Linked DNA regions of Homo sapiens: regions 1 and 2 are each linked to region 3. Evidence: promoter capture Hi-C in 16 types of primary human blood cells and fetal thymus (Javierre and others, 2016). All regions are on one chromosome and are shown on one strand. The core of a region is centred on a gene start or on the middle of the fragment in contact, and the rest is flanking DNA. Distances in the headings are between cores, read along the strand shown.

Region 1 (5,066 bases), core at 2,354-4,853, 540 kb before region 3:
AAATTAACTACTGCTTCCCACACAAATTATTTTTACCAAGTATAGATGAAAAAGAATGTCTTCTGATAACTCTTCTCATAGGTTATGTCCTCACAGTTGGATTCATGAGTTTTGCAGTATGTTACAAGTATGGGCCCTTGGAGAATGAACGAAGTATCAACCTGCTGACCTGGACCTTGCAGCTGATGGGCCTGTGTTTCATGTATTCTGGCATCCAGATACCACATATTGCCCTTGCCATTATCATCATTGCTCTTTGTACTAAGAACCTGGAACACCCTATTCAGTGGCTGTACATCACCTGCAGGTGACTGAAAGGCAATGTAACTTAATATTGACAGGTACATTGTGGGATGCAGTTGCAGCAAGAGGATACAGAGGTGTTGACCTGGGAGCTTCTTTGTTAATGAAAAGTCATTGTATTGTACTTCCACTTTTGTTCCTTCCCGAGTCTATTTTTTTTTTTTTACTTTCTATAGGAATTTTTATATTTTTATTCTAGTCATTTTATATAAAATGTCTAGTAAAATGTCATGTGTTCCTGTTACCACAAGGTGGTGCAAATTCTATCACTGTTTTTTTGAGATGGAGTCTCGCTCTGTCGCCCAGGCTGGAGTGCAGTGGCGTGATCTCGGCTCACTGCAACCTCCACCTCCCGGGTTCAAACGATTCTTCTGCCTCAGCCTCCTGAGTAGCTGGGATTACAGGCATGCGCCACCACATTCAGCTAATTTTTATATTTTTAGTAGGGTTCCCCATGTTGACCAGGCTGGTCTTGAACTCCTGACCTCAAATGTCAGGAGTTCATAAAGTGCTGAGGAGCTCCCAAAGTGCTTGGATTACAAAGTGCTGGGATTACAGACATGAGCCACTGCGCCCCGCCACAAATTGTATCGCTTTTATACCGTATGCTCATTGAGGTCTCCTGGGTTCAGATTTTTTTTTTGAGACAGAGTCTCTCTCTGTCACCCAGGCTGGAGCACAATGGCGTGATCTCGGCTCACTGCAGCCTCCACCTCCCGGGTTCAAGTGATTCTTCTGCCTCAGCCTCCCGAATAGTTGGGACTACGGGTGGGCGCCACTATGCCTGGCTAATTTTTGTATTTTTAATAGAGATGTGGTTTCACCATGTTGGCCAGGGTGGTCTCAAACTCCTGACCTCAGGTGATTTGCCCACCTCAGCCCCACAAAGTGCTAGGATTATAGGCGTGAGCCACCTCACCCAGCCCATTTCAGACTATTTCTCAGTGGCTTTCAGATTGCTCTGGAGGTCTTAGTCTTATTTTAAGATGTAATTCATAGCATGTTTTGTCACCTTGCATAATAAATATGGAATGTTACTAGGTCCTGAAGTTGTCTATTATAGATAGTCAAGGTGATGCTTTCAGTTTGGGAAACCAAGTTACTGGACCACAATCTTTTTTTTTTGAGATGGAGTCTTGCTCTGTCACCAGGCTGGAGTGCAGTGGTGCTATCTCAGCTCACCGCAACCTCTGCCTCCTGGGTTTAAGCGATTCTCCTGCCTCAGCCTCCTGAGTAGCTGGGGTTACAGGTACATGCCACCATGCCCAGCTAATTTTTGCATTTTTATAGTAGAGATGGCGTTTCACTATGTTGGCCAGGATAGTCTCAATCTTGACCTTGTGATCTGCCCACCTTGGCCTCCCAAAGTGCTGGGATTACAGGTGTGAGCCACCTTGCCCGGCGTTTTTTTTTGTTTTTTTTTTTTTTTGAGATGGAGTTTTGCTCTTGTTGCCCAGGCTGGAGTGCAATGGCATGATCTCGGCTCACTGCAACCTCCGCCTCCCTGGTTCAAGCGATTGTCCTGCCTCAGCCTCCCGAATAGCTGGGATTACAGGTATGCACCACCATGCCTGGCTAATTTTGTATTTTTAGTAGAGATGGGGTTCCTCTGTGTTGGTCAGGTTGATCTCCAACTCCTGACCTCAGGTGATCTGCCTGCCTTGGCCTCCCAAAGTGCTGGGATTATAGGCGTGAGCCACTGTGCCTGGCTAGAACCACAGTCTTATACCATGATTTTCTGTTATTTTCCCATCTACTAGAAAATAAGTAAGTATTTTATCATTTATTGGAAAATAAAGTGAGTTTGTTCACATTAGTGAATAATATTGACTATAATTTTTTACTTTCTATAGGCATTTTTATATTTTTATTCTAGTCATTTTATATAAAATAAAAAGGTCTAGTAAAATGTCATGTGTTCCTGTTACCACAAGGTGGTGCAAATTATATCACTTTTTTTTTGAGATGGAGTCTCGCTCTGTCGCCTATGAATTGTCACTCATAGTCTAATGTATCAGGAGTTCATTATAACTAAAGATGTCCATGGAATTTTTAGGAGTGATGACTCTTAATGTTCAGGCTGTCTGCTGTATTCTTGGCCCACTGAAGGGAGCTAGAAGTAAGGATGGATATAGATTACTGATTAATGATTCATAATGTTATTTTGGTGAGCACAGAAAGGTGTGTAAGGGAGCAGAAAAGCCTGTTCCCCCTCGTCTCCTGACAGAAGAAGAATATCGGATACAAGGAGAGGTAGAAACCCGAAAGGCTTTAGAGGAGCTCCGAGAATTTTGTAACAGTCCAGACTGCTCTGCTTGGAAGACTGTTTCTCGAATCCAGTCTCCAAAAAGGTAAACTCGGCCAGATATACCAAGCATCTATCAGGGTAATTGTGACCTTGAGTTCTACCAGAGATCATACTTCTAGAGAATCGTGCACTTGTGACCTTTGTTTTCCTGTTAATCTTCAAGTAGTCAAGAGAAGGGTGGATATATAATCACACATTAAGCAGTAACCTGTTTCCTCAGGGAACTATCTACTCTAGCTTTGATTGTAGCATTAAGATGGGAAGACTCCAGTACCATATTAAGTTTCCCTTCTGAAAGTTTTGCATTGCTGTCTGAGTTGGTAGGGTTCCCCCCTACCCACTTTTTAGTTGGGGGCAAATGTACCAATGAGTATGTGAAGCTTCAATTTGGAATCATGATGGCATAAAGTTTACAGGGCCATAAACGTGAATAACTGTAATGCCCCTTAATCTTCTCTTATCAGGATTACAGATGACTAAAGGAACCTTGGCACTTTCATAATTAGAAAGGATAGGCAAGTGCTTATTAAGCAGGATGGAGTTGCAGGGGTATTAGCCTATGATCCCAGCTTTCCTTTTCTCCTTAACTTCATGCTTTAGTCTACTTACCTGCCAGAGTAAGGACAAGGATGTTGGCTAGACTTAATATAATTTGAGTTGCGAGCATATCGAGGGCTTTAATTTGTTCTTATTTTGAAAGAAGACCAGAAAGGACAGAAGGATATTTCTAACGAGTATTATCTTCTCTTTTCCAGATTTGCTGACTTTGTGGAAGGCTCTTCCCACCTCACGCCAAATGAAGTTTCTGTCCATGAGCAGGAGTATGGATTAGGGAGCATTATTGCCCAGGATGAAATCTATGAGGAAGCATCCTCTGAGGAGGAGGACTCATATTCTCGGTGTCCTGCTATCACACAGAACAACTTTCTAACCTAGGTAGTGGTCAGTTATCTTTACGTGGACTGGCTTGGTGCCTTGGTCCATGTTGCATGTGTTGTGCAATTGCTTTCAACCCTTTGAAACAGAGTGAGATAGATAGGGTAGAAATTCTCCTACTGAAATAAGAGGCCTAAAAAGGCCTCCCTTTGGAAATGGGAGGTCTCTATGGGATCCCTGAGGAAGGAGAGTGGATAAAGTAGTGAATGCTGGGTAGTTCACTTCCCATTGGTTAAGCTAACAGCCCACTTTTATGTTTCCAGAGAAATTGGATGGCCACAGCTAGCATGGCATTCTAGCTCCTTCTTGAAAGTTGATTCAATCATGGCATTTCTGTCACTGGCTGGCTCTCCAAAGTAAGAACTGTTGTTAAGTGCAGGAATGCTTTTAGACTATAGGCTGCAACTTCCAGAGAGAAATCCACAAATCTGAGCCTCCTTCACTCCAGCTTTTATTTCAGTGACTTTAGAATAATTATTGATTTAACTGTTTTGGGAGGAAAATAGATTTTTATTGTTTTGTTTTTTAAATGAATGTCTTTTAAAAAACATAACAAACTCATGTTCCAGAACCAGCAAGTGCTCCAGAGTGACACACCCCCTAGGCCCCTACATATTTATTAATATGGATTATCCATTAAAGCCCCAGGAGCTGTTGTTTTAAGCTTTGATTTAGTTCTCATACATATGATAGAAAGTCCTATTTGCCTTTAGGAACATGCCTGTAGGCTCTTCTGCAGGTGAGATGTACTGGGCTTTTTATTATATTCAACTTTCAATTCCATCTTAAAAAACATTTGTATTCTTCTCTTCCCATTCTTCCTTACCCTGCCTTTGCCCTTTCAGGAAGGGTCAGTTCCCTTACCTGTGAACTATGTATGTTCAGAGTAGCATTATTCCTGCTAGCTAGGAGAAGTCATCTTGTTTAGGGGATTTGGATGCTTTTTATACGTTCTCCATTTTCCTGTCATTGGGTCATGTTATCTTTGAGTTGCTATGAAATCAGGAAACTGTCTCCTTTTCCTTTCCCTTCCTTTGTCTACATGCTCTGTCCATTCCTTTCAGCCTTTTCTCACCACCCATACTCCCCCAAATCTGGGTAATTTTTAAGCCTTGAAACTATGTAGTTTCTTGATACACAATTTGTAGTTATGCAGCAGCCACAATTTGCATTGCCAGGAAATAGGCTCCAGGTTATCTTCATGCCTCTGGGTGCTCATTCAGCTGTCAAGTTTCCATGAACTTACACTTATTTATGATTGCGTTTCTGACCTGAGATGTATGCTGCCTGTTATTGCAGTAGCATTAGTTTCAGATTCTTTTGCCATTGCAAAGTACCCCTTATAAACCAGCAATGTCATCTGTGAGGAAGCAAATTCTCAAGTGTCTGTCATTTACTTGGTTCTTTTTCTTTGTGGTCTTCACCCTTATACCCTGGAAAAGTCTGTAATTACCTTAGCCAGGAAGATAGATGGTCATGGCAAGCGCACAGCACCAGACTTACTGGCTCACCAAGATGA
Region 2 (4,441 bases), core at 961-3,460, 690 kb after region 3:
GTGAGGGTGGAAAGAACAGGAAGCCCTGGGTGTGTGGAGGGAGGGGTGCTGGGACATTATTGCCCCATCTGCGACTGGGACTTAATACTACCCCACTGGATTGGGAAGGGTGAGGTTAATAGAGAGGGGAGAGGGAGGGAGAACAGGAGAGTATGAGTCATGGTGGGGGTCTCTGGACAGCTGCTCCAGGCCCAGGGCAGAAAGAGGGAAAAAACCAGACACCAAGAGTTTGGGAGGAGGAATTAAGTAGAGACAGTCACCCACAGTTTGTCAGGGTTTTAAAGCCTCAGCTTCATGCTGAGATGGAGTTGTTGGAGGAAGAGGCATCCAGCCACAGTCCTAATCCCACAGCCCCTCATGGAATAAGCAGGGACTTTGCCCACAGACATCTCACATCCTGGTAGCCACTCGCACCTCCCCTTAGGATATTGGTGGGACTTTTCCTACCTCACCCTTCCCCCAGCGGTATCAGGGCTGCCAATGGGATTTGAATTCAAATCCTGAAAGGAGAACACCAAGGAGGAGCTGGCATTTCGGGCACTGTGGGAATGAAGTGGCAAAAATGCAGGCACATTACTTTCTTCAGCTGTCCTTTGGATATCAAGGTCCTTACAGGCTGGAGGGTTGACTCTCGGAGCTCCTCTCCTCAATCTGCTTGGAAGTCTGGGGACCCTGGACAAGCGGGGGTTGGGGAGGGGATGTTAACTACTCACCATCCTGCCAGGATTGAGGAGAGGAGGGGGTGGAAGTGCTTCCCTAGACCTCCAGATGCATCCCTGCTCGGAGGTCCTAGACGCCGGGGGTGCGGCTGTCGGTCAAGAGCACCCCCAGGGTCACTCTGTTGCTGCCTAAACTCTTTCAAGTCGCAGCCCAGGCTCTGTGAGCTAAATGCAACTAGCTTGCAGGGTGGAGAAAGGGGACAGGGCGTGTGTGTTGGGGTGTGTGTTTGTGTTTGTGTGTGTGCGCGCGCGCGTGCGCGCGGTGGGGGGAGGAGGGGTGACATCACAAGGCAGGCCCCTCCAATTCTTTCCCGTGTGTGTGGGGGGACCCAGGTTGCCTACTGCTCTAGTCCAGGACCAGAGACCCCCAACTATATAGCAGGTAAGAGTCTTGAGGGTCACCCCAAGAGTTTTGGAGAAGGGTCTCCGAATACTTAGGAGATGACAACCGGAAGCTCTCAAAGCCCCAATAGGGGTCCCAGCGCCCCCCTAGCTTCAGCTTGGTTTCTTCCACTTTCCAGAGAATTGGAGTATTGTCTCCTGGAGAACCGGGTGGTCGGGATCGTGGACCAGGGAAGGGGCTTTTGCTGGTCGGGGAGCGCCAACTGGGGGTTCATGGGTGGAAAAACTTTCGGATCAAGACGGGGTATAAGGCTAGAGGCGTGTGCAGAGGAGGGGACCGACGGAACGGGGACCCAACTGGGTCTACGTGGGGGCGGGGGCGCTTGTGGACGTCCACCAAATAGCTTGGTATGCAGATGAGATGTCAAGCAGCAGGTAGATGAGTTCAGTGTTCTTTGGCTCACGGGCAAAGTTCTGAGCCGAGCCAAGTTACGCTCCCAGTTCCTAGGCACCGCTCGGTGATCGGGCCTGGGGAGCTGCGACCCGAGGGGCGGATCCAGGTATAAGGGGCAGCTCGCCAGCTGGGTCAAGCGCGGGGGAGGCCGTGGGTTGCTGTGAAAGGAGGGGCAGTGCTGCGGGGCGAGGGAGGGGGCCAGCCGGGGCACCCTCTCCTCTGCTCCACCTCCGCACCGCAGGATACAAAGGGGCCTGTGTCCTCGCAGCTGCCGGCACGGAAGGGATCAGGGCAGTGACTCTTCTGAGCTCCCTGGTTTTGTCTGCAAGGGAAAAAGACTATATGTGGCTCGGTGGCTGCCCTCCATCTCCCAGGAATACAAAGCCTAGGAATACACCCAGAGCAATCCTGAGAGTCTGCCCTTAGTCTGCAGGCATTGGTGCAGAGTCCACCTGCCTTGCTTCCTGCGGTGCAACCTGCGGGAATCCCATTCCCACACGCGGAGGGAGGGGCCTTTAAATGGCGGGGCCAGTACTTCCTTAGGACCGCCTCCTTGGAGTCGACGCAGCCCTAGCTGGATTGGCTTGCCTCTCAGCCAACCGCTATTTCTTTTCCTTCCCGTCTCTTCCCTGGTGACCCCGGAAGTGGAAGTAGGCCCAGGTCGCCGGCGGCCGCGGGGACGGAAGGCGGAAGCAGAGCGTGAGCGGGAGGCGGAGCCGGGAGAGCGGCTCTCGTAGCTCACCCTGGCCCCAGGCCGGGCGGCTCGAGGGGGAGGAGTTACCGCCGTTCTTCGGTACGTCCGTCTTTTTTTTTTTTTTCGTTTTTTTTTGTTTTTTTGAGATGGAGTCTCGCTCTGTCACCCAGACTGGAGTACAGTGGCACGATCTCGGTTCACTGCAACCTCCACCTCCCGGGTTCAAGCGATTCTTCTGCCTCAGCCTCCCGAGTAGCTGGGACTACAGGTGCGCGCCACCACGCCTGGCGAATTTCTGTATTTTTAGTAGAGACGGAGTTTCACCATGTTGGCCAGGCTGGTCTCGAACTCCTGACCTCGTGATCCGCCGGCCTCGGCCTCCCAAAGTGCTGGGATTACAGGCGTGAGCCACGGTGCCCGGCCACCTTCGTCCCTTCTACACAGCCGGTGGGTTCCCTGTTAGTCTTTCTTAGGGGCAGCCCTAAGCTCCGCCCCCAGATTTTCCTCCAGGGCCGCATGGCCCCCACCCATTACTGGAAGTCTGTGGCCCCCTTTCCGGCGGTCTTTCCCATTTTCCTAAGAGTGACCCACCCTCCCCCGACCACACCCTTTACGGTACCTCCCTGTTTCCCTGATTGAAGGTTATAGTTTTCTGGGGAAAGAAGAAAAACTTAAGTGATTTGGAGGAGAGGGGAGGGAGCAAGCAGGGTTGTGGTGAGTCTAGTTTTGGCTTATTGCTAGGAATAGCGAATGCCCCAAAAGAACTTGGGAAAACAAGGGAGGTGGATGAATTAAATGTGTCCACTATTTGAGATTGTTTAATTCCTCTCTTGGTCTCATCCTTGACTGTCTCCACCTTGATATCTGTTACAGGCATCAGAACACACCATGATGGCTGTGACCTAAGACCCTCAGGAAGCCCCGGGGTCATGGCCCAGAAGCACCCCGGAGAAAGAGGGTTGTATGGAGCCCACCACAGTGGTGGTGCCTCCCTCAGGACTTTAGGACCCTCCGTGGACCCTGAAATACCTTCATTCTCAGGACTCAGGGACTCAGCAGGGACTGCTCCTAATGGTACCCGCTGCCTCACAGAGCACTCTGGTCCTAAGCACACACAGCACCCAAACCCAGCCCATTGGTTGGACCCAAGCCATGGCCCCCCAGGGGGTCCAGGACCACCTAGAGATGCAGAGGACCCTGATCAGAGTGAGACGTCTTCAGAAGAAGAATCAGGAGTGGACCAGGAACTCTCAAAAGAAAACGAGACTGGGAACCAGAAGGATGGGAACTCTTTTCTTTCCATTCCATCTGCTTGCAACTGCCAGGGAACACCTGGAATTCCAGAAGGGCCTTACTCTGAGGGAGGAAATGGTTCTTCTAGCAACTTTTGCCACCACTGTACCTCTCCAGCTTTGGGGGAAGATGAGTTGGAAGAGGAATATGATGATGAAGAATCTCTCAAGTTCCCCAGTGATTTTTCACGTGTGTCCAGCGGAAAGAAACCCCCATCCCGGAGACAGCGGCACCGCTTTCCAACGAAGGAGGATACTCGGGAGGGTGGACGTAGGGATCCCAGGTCCCCTGGTCGACATCGGCTGGGTCGGAAACGAAGTCAGGCAGATAAGCGCAAAGGCCTGGGATTGTGGGGAGCCGAGGAACTATGTCAACTTGGACAGGCAGGCTTTTGGTGGCTGATTGAACTGCTGGTATTGGTGGGAGAGTACGTAGAAACTTGTGGCCATCTCATCTATGCCTGCAGGCAACTGAAAAGCAGTGATTTGGACCTTTTTCGAGTTTGGATGGGAGTGTGGACAGGGCGGTTAGGGGGCTGGGCCCAGGTCATGTTTCAGTTTCTAAGCCAGGGGTTTTACTGTGGAGTAGGACTGTTTACTCGTTTTCTTAAGCTGCTGGGTGCTTTGCTGCTCCTGGCTCTGGCCCTCTTTTTGGGCTTTCTACAGTTGGGATGGCGGTTTCTGGTGGGACTAGGTGACCGGTTAGGCTGGAGGGATAAGGCTACCTGGCTCTTCTCTTGGCTGGATTCTCCAGCCTTGCAGCGTTGCTTGACTCTGCTGAGAGATAGCAGGCCATGGCAGCGGCTGGTAAGAATAGTTCAGTGGGGCTGGCTGGAGTTGCCTTGGGTCAAGCAGAATATTAATAGGCAGGGGAATGCACCTGTAGCTAGTGGGCGCTACTGCCAGCCTGAAGAGGAAGTGGCTCGACTCTTGACCATGG
Region 3 (4,382 bases), core at 153-2,652:
CTATAGCTCCCCATTTCCTCTCCCCTCTACCCATATTTCTTCAGGATATAAACAAAATGAGTACCACACAGACTAAGCCCATAAATCAACATTAAGTGTTTTGGGTCTAAACATTTACCCACTGCATTGATCAGACACTTGTGTTTAAATCCACCTCTAATGGTCTCATTAGGTACATGAGAAAGCAGCAGGAATCGTTCCTCACCCTCCAACATTCCATTAGATGAGCAAAAGATTCCCTAAATGTCTATGTCACATTTTTTCTTCAAAGAACAGCTACAACACAAAGAGAGGGTAAAGAGTCTTCTTCCTGCTACAGCATGAAATTCCTCCTAATCAGTATGCTGTGCGCCCTGAAATGCCAGAAACTGCCAAATATATTCCTTGTCAAATATGGACAAGATTGTCCATCTCTCCCCATGTGCCCAAGGACAGCACAATTCTCTGGCAGCCATGGGTTAATCATAAAGACTCCTAGGATCACTGCAAAGTCTGGCTATCTGCAGAGGTCCAAGTATCAGTTCAAATACAAGATCCAAAGTATCACAGCGCTCTGTGCCTTAATCCCAAGGTGCGATGTCTCTCAAGACTCCTTCTCTATAGGCTGGGTGGGGTAGGATCTGTAGTCTAGAAGAGTATACCCAGCTCTTGATAAACTGTTGTGGTTTCTCTGACTATCTATGATTTCAGCTATCTAATACTACTGGTGGTATGGGTAGGAGGGAAGGTTGGGGAGAGAATGGAAACAGTTAATCAAAAAATAAAATAATCTTGTGGGGTGGGGTGGACTGGGGGACAGGGTCTGAAATGACATATTATCCTTGTGGAGATTGATACATCAGCAGGAAGTCAAACTAACTTCATTTCATAAGGATACAAACTTGCAAGCTTGATTTGTTTTTAATTCCCCTGTCTTTTCAGGCCTCGCAGAGACTGAAAGTTCCCTGAACTCCAGAACCAGTTGAGGAAAGATGCAGAAAGCAGTAGTGGAAAAGGGAGAAGCGCGGTGAGGAATTAGGAATCTTGAGAGAGGAAGCCCCTTCCCCTCTTTAAAAAGAATGTAAAAACCAAGGGCATTGCAAGATCCCCAGAAAAAGAAGTAGCTAGATACCAAAAAAGCGCTTTTCCCTACCTTCTTGTTGTTTCTATTGTAGCCAAAAGTCGAAATCCCGGGCCTGGAAGTCACGGATAGCAGCATTTTCTCTTTAATGTTAGGGAACGAGCGAGAGAGAGAGAGAGAGAGAAAGGGAGGGGGTAAGAAAGACGGGGAGGGAGGGAGGAGGGGAGCGAGGGAAAGGGGGAGAGGGAGGGAGGAAAAAAGGGAGGGGGAGGAGAAAGGAGGAGAAAAGGAGCAGGAGGAGAGAGATGAAGGGGGGCTGCGGGCAGAGAATGAGCTCGGGCTGCTCCTTTACGTCACTGAGAGAAGTTAACAGAGTCTGAATGAGGCAGAGGCACTTCCACTGGGTCCTAATGCCCAAGATGTTTTTTTTTGTTTGTTTTTCATAGTCTCAGGAGTTAAAGCTAGAAAGAAGAGTTCTTAGGTCTAACCCCTTTCAAATTTATCCCCTTTCCTCTATGAACAAGTTCCGATTCTCATATAAAGACAATGAGGGCTTTATTTCCACCCTTAGATCTCAGCTATAAGATTTCAAGCTTGATTTTAAAGGGGCTCCTGAGACATTGCCTTGGAGAACACGCAAAAAAAAAAAAAAAAAAAAACAGAGTTAGAGTGTGTGAGATAAGCTCAGGGCTTCCCCTACTTTACACTTACAGTGATTTTTTTTTTTTTTTTTTGAGACAGAGTTTTAGTCTGTCACCCAGGCTGAAGTGCAGTGGTGCAATCCCGGATCCGGCTCACTGCAACCTCCACCTTCCGCAATTCTCCTGCCTCAGCCTCTCGAGTAGCTGGGATTACAGGTGACCACCACCACACCCAGCTGATTTTTGTATTTTTTAGTAGGGACGGGGTTTCGCCATCTTGGCCAGGCTGGTCTCGAACTCCTGACCTCAAGTGATCCACCCACTCAACCTCCCAAAGTGCTGGGATTACAGGCATGAGCCACCACCCCTGGCCCATTTATAGTGATCTTAATGTACAAAGGAACAAACAGAGGAACACACCAAAGAGCAGAGCTAAGCAAAACAGAGTATGGGGTATAACTAGTTTCAGATCCTTAGATGTGTTTCTCTTGGGTCATACCAATGGGCTGATGCCCCTCACTCCTATTTCAGATTCTCCGAGGAATGAGTTCATACTTAAGAAGGAATTATCAGACTGGACTATATCATGAAACTTGGTGCCTTGTTATTTCTCTAACAATTGCAGGCTATCTTATTTAACACTTTACCCTGCTATTTCCTCATCTTTAAGATCCATGAAACTGAAACAATTACAGTAACTCACCAAACCTGGAGTTTATGTCTAAATTGAAGTCTACAGTTGGGATGTCTGCTTTGAGTTGTCTTTGAGCTGTTTAAAAAAAAAAAATACTTAAGAAGCATATGCTTCAACAGAATAAAAACACAAAATTCTTAGGAAGGAATACAAATTTCAGAGTCAAGAACCTAATAGAGTTGCAACACTTACCTCTACTAGTTTCCAAAGAATGTCTTTGTAGGCGTAACCTTAACAAGAAAGGAAACCAAAAACTTAAGAATGATATCCAGTAACCCCTACCAATCCAAGTGCAATAGGGATGTTAAATGAAAGCCTTCAAATCCCTTCATAAGGCCACCTTGCTGCCATCCTAAGTAGTTTCTTGAGATATAAATTAACCCTGTCTGTTTTGTGACAACAAATATTAAGCCCAAACCCTCCCTCAAATGAAGTTCTGGTCTCTATTCTAGTTTCCGTGTCACTTTTTTGCTATGATAATGGAACAGACAGTATTAGTATTCTGCAGAGTAAATATACATACCCTACCCCCAATCTCTAACTTTCATTTCCAATAGGACAGGAAGTGCCTGCTCAGCTCAGGGGACACAGGAAGGGTGGGAGAGCCTCAGTGTGGGAATTGCAACTGAGACTGGAAACACAGCAGCCAAATGCAGTAAATAAATAAATGAAGGCATCACTCAGTGATATCTTTTTTTTTTTCTGAGACAGAGTCTTGCTCTGTTGCCCAGGCTAGAGTGCAGTGGTGCTATCTTGGCTCACCGCAACCTCTGCGTCCCGGGTTCAAGCGATTCTCCTGCCTCAGCCTCCCGAGTAGCTGAGACTATAGGCATGCGCCACCATGCCCGGCTAATTTTTTTGTATTTTTAGTAGTCTTGTTGGCCAGACTGGTCTCAAACTCCCGACCTCAGGTGATCTGCCCGCCTTGGCCTCCCAAAGTGCTGGGATTACAGGAGTGAGCCACCGCGCCCGGCCCATATATATATATATATATATTTTTTTAAGTCCTTTTTCTGCTCTCAGAGACTCTCATTAACCAATTTATCCTTGCTGTTTAGGCCCTTGGATGATATCTTCTCCTTTACCCTAACAATGTGGTACAGAAACCTTTCTCTTGAAGGCCTGATTCATAAAGGCAATCAACCCAATTTAACTTTTTTTTTAAGTCTAATTTTTCTTTCTACTTTTTTTTTTTCCCCCTGAGACAGAGTCTCACTCTGTCGCCAGGCTGGAGTGCAGTGGTGCAATCTTGGCTCACTGAAACCTCTGCCTCCCGGGTTCAAACGATTCTCCCGCCTTAGCCTCCTGAGTAGCTGGTACTACAGGCATGTGCCACGACGCCCAGCTAATTTTTGTATTTTTAGTGGAGACGGGGTTTCACCATGTTGGCCAGTCTGGTCTCGAACTCCTGACCTCAGGCAATCCACCCGCCTTGGCCTCCCAAAGTGCTGGGATTACAGGTGTGAACCACGGCACCCGACCGAAAAATCTAAATTTTTATAATCTGGTAAATTAGGACCACAGAAGTAAAATGACCCGGATATGCAAACTGATGCCAAAGGTGTATTATGTTAAAGAGCACCAACAAAACTGGAAACTAAATCCTTCATTCTGGTGAGTATATGTATTATAAACATATATTTTTTTTTATGACAGGGTCTCACTCTGTCACCTAGGCTGGAGTGCAGTAGCACAATCACGGCTCACAACAGGCAGCTTTGACTTCCCCAGGTTCAGGTGATCCTCACACCCATCCCACCCCTCCCCACCCTGTAGCTGGGACTACAGGCATGCACCACCACACCTGGCTAACTTTTGTAATTTTTTTTTTTTTGGTAGAGACGGGGTTTCATCATGTTGCCCAGGCTGGTCTTGAATTCCTCAGCTCAAGCAATTTGCCCACCTCAGTCTCCAAAACTGCTGGCATTACAGGTGAGTATATTTGTAAAGGAGTTATGGAATTCTGTGGAAATGATGGGGAAGGTAA

What was found. The method cuts DNA at HindIII sites, captures the fragments that hold promoters and counts their contacts. A CHiCAGO score of 5 or more calls a contact.
Region 1: a contact is called between a fragment that was not itself captured here and the fragment with the promoter of RBMS2 in region 3, in 1 of 17 cell types (total B cells). The highest score is 5.3, in total B cells.
Region 2: the fragment with the promoter of DNAJC14 here is called in contact with the fragment with the promoter of RBMS2 in region 3 in 1 of 17 cell types (naive CD8 T cells); the score reaches 5.6 in naive CD8 T cells.

What each region holds. Positions count from the first base shown.
Region 1 is chr12:57,058,360-57,063,425 of GRCh38, reverse strand. It overlaps NEMP1 (nuclear envelope integral membrane protein 1), which reads left to right. Exons shown (of 9, transcript NM_001130963.2): 7 at 82-307; 8 at 2,481-2,654; 9 at 3,367-5,066. The coding sequence ends at 3,547. Among named protein-coding and RNA genes, the nearest start is that of MYO1A, 11 kb to the right of the region's middle. The HindIII fragment of the contact is 1,220 bases long and covers 2,994-4,213 here.
Region 2 is chr12:55,827,356-55,831,796 of GRCh38, reverse strand. DNAJC14 (DnaJ heat shock protein family (Hsp40) member C14) reads left to right here and starts at 2,210. Exons shown (of 7, transcript NM_032364.6): 1 at 2,210-2,308; 2 at 3,083-4,441. The coding sequence starts at 3,139. It also overlaps the pseudogene TMEM198B. RefSeq lists enhancers at 743-942, 897-1,634 and a silencer at 2,163-2,272. The HindIII fragment of the contact is 16,581 bases long and covers 1-4,441 here.
Region 3 is chr12:56,518,840-56,523,221 of GRCh38, reverse strand. It overlaps RBMS2 (RNA binding motif single stranded interacting protein 2), which reads right to left and starts at 1,402. Exons shown (of 14, transcript NM_002898.4): 1 at 1,133-1,402. The coding sequence starts at 1,198. RefSeq lists an enhancer at 224-967. The HindIII fragment of the contact is 765 bases long and covers 891-1,655 here.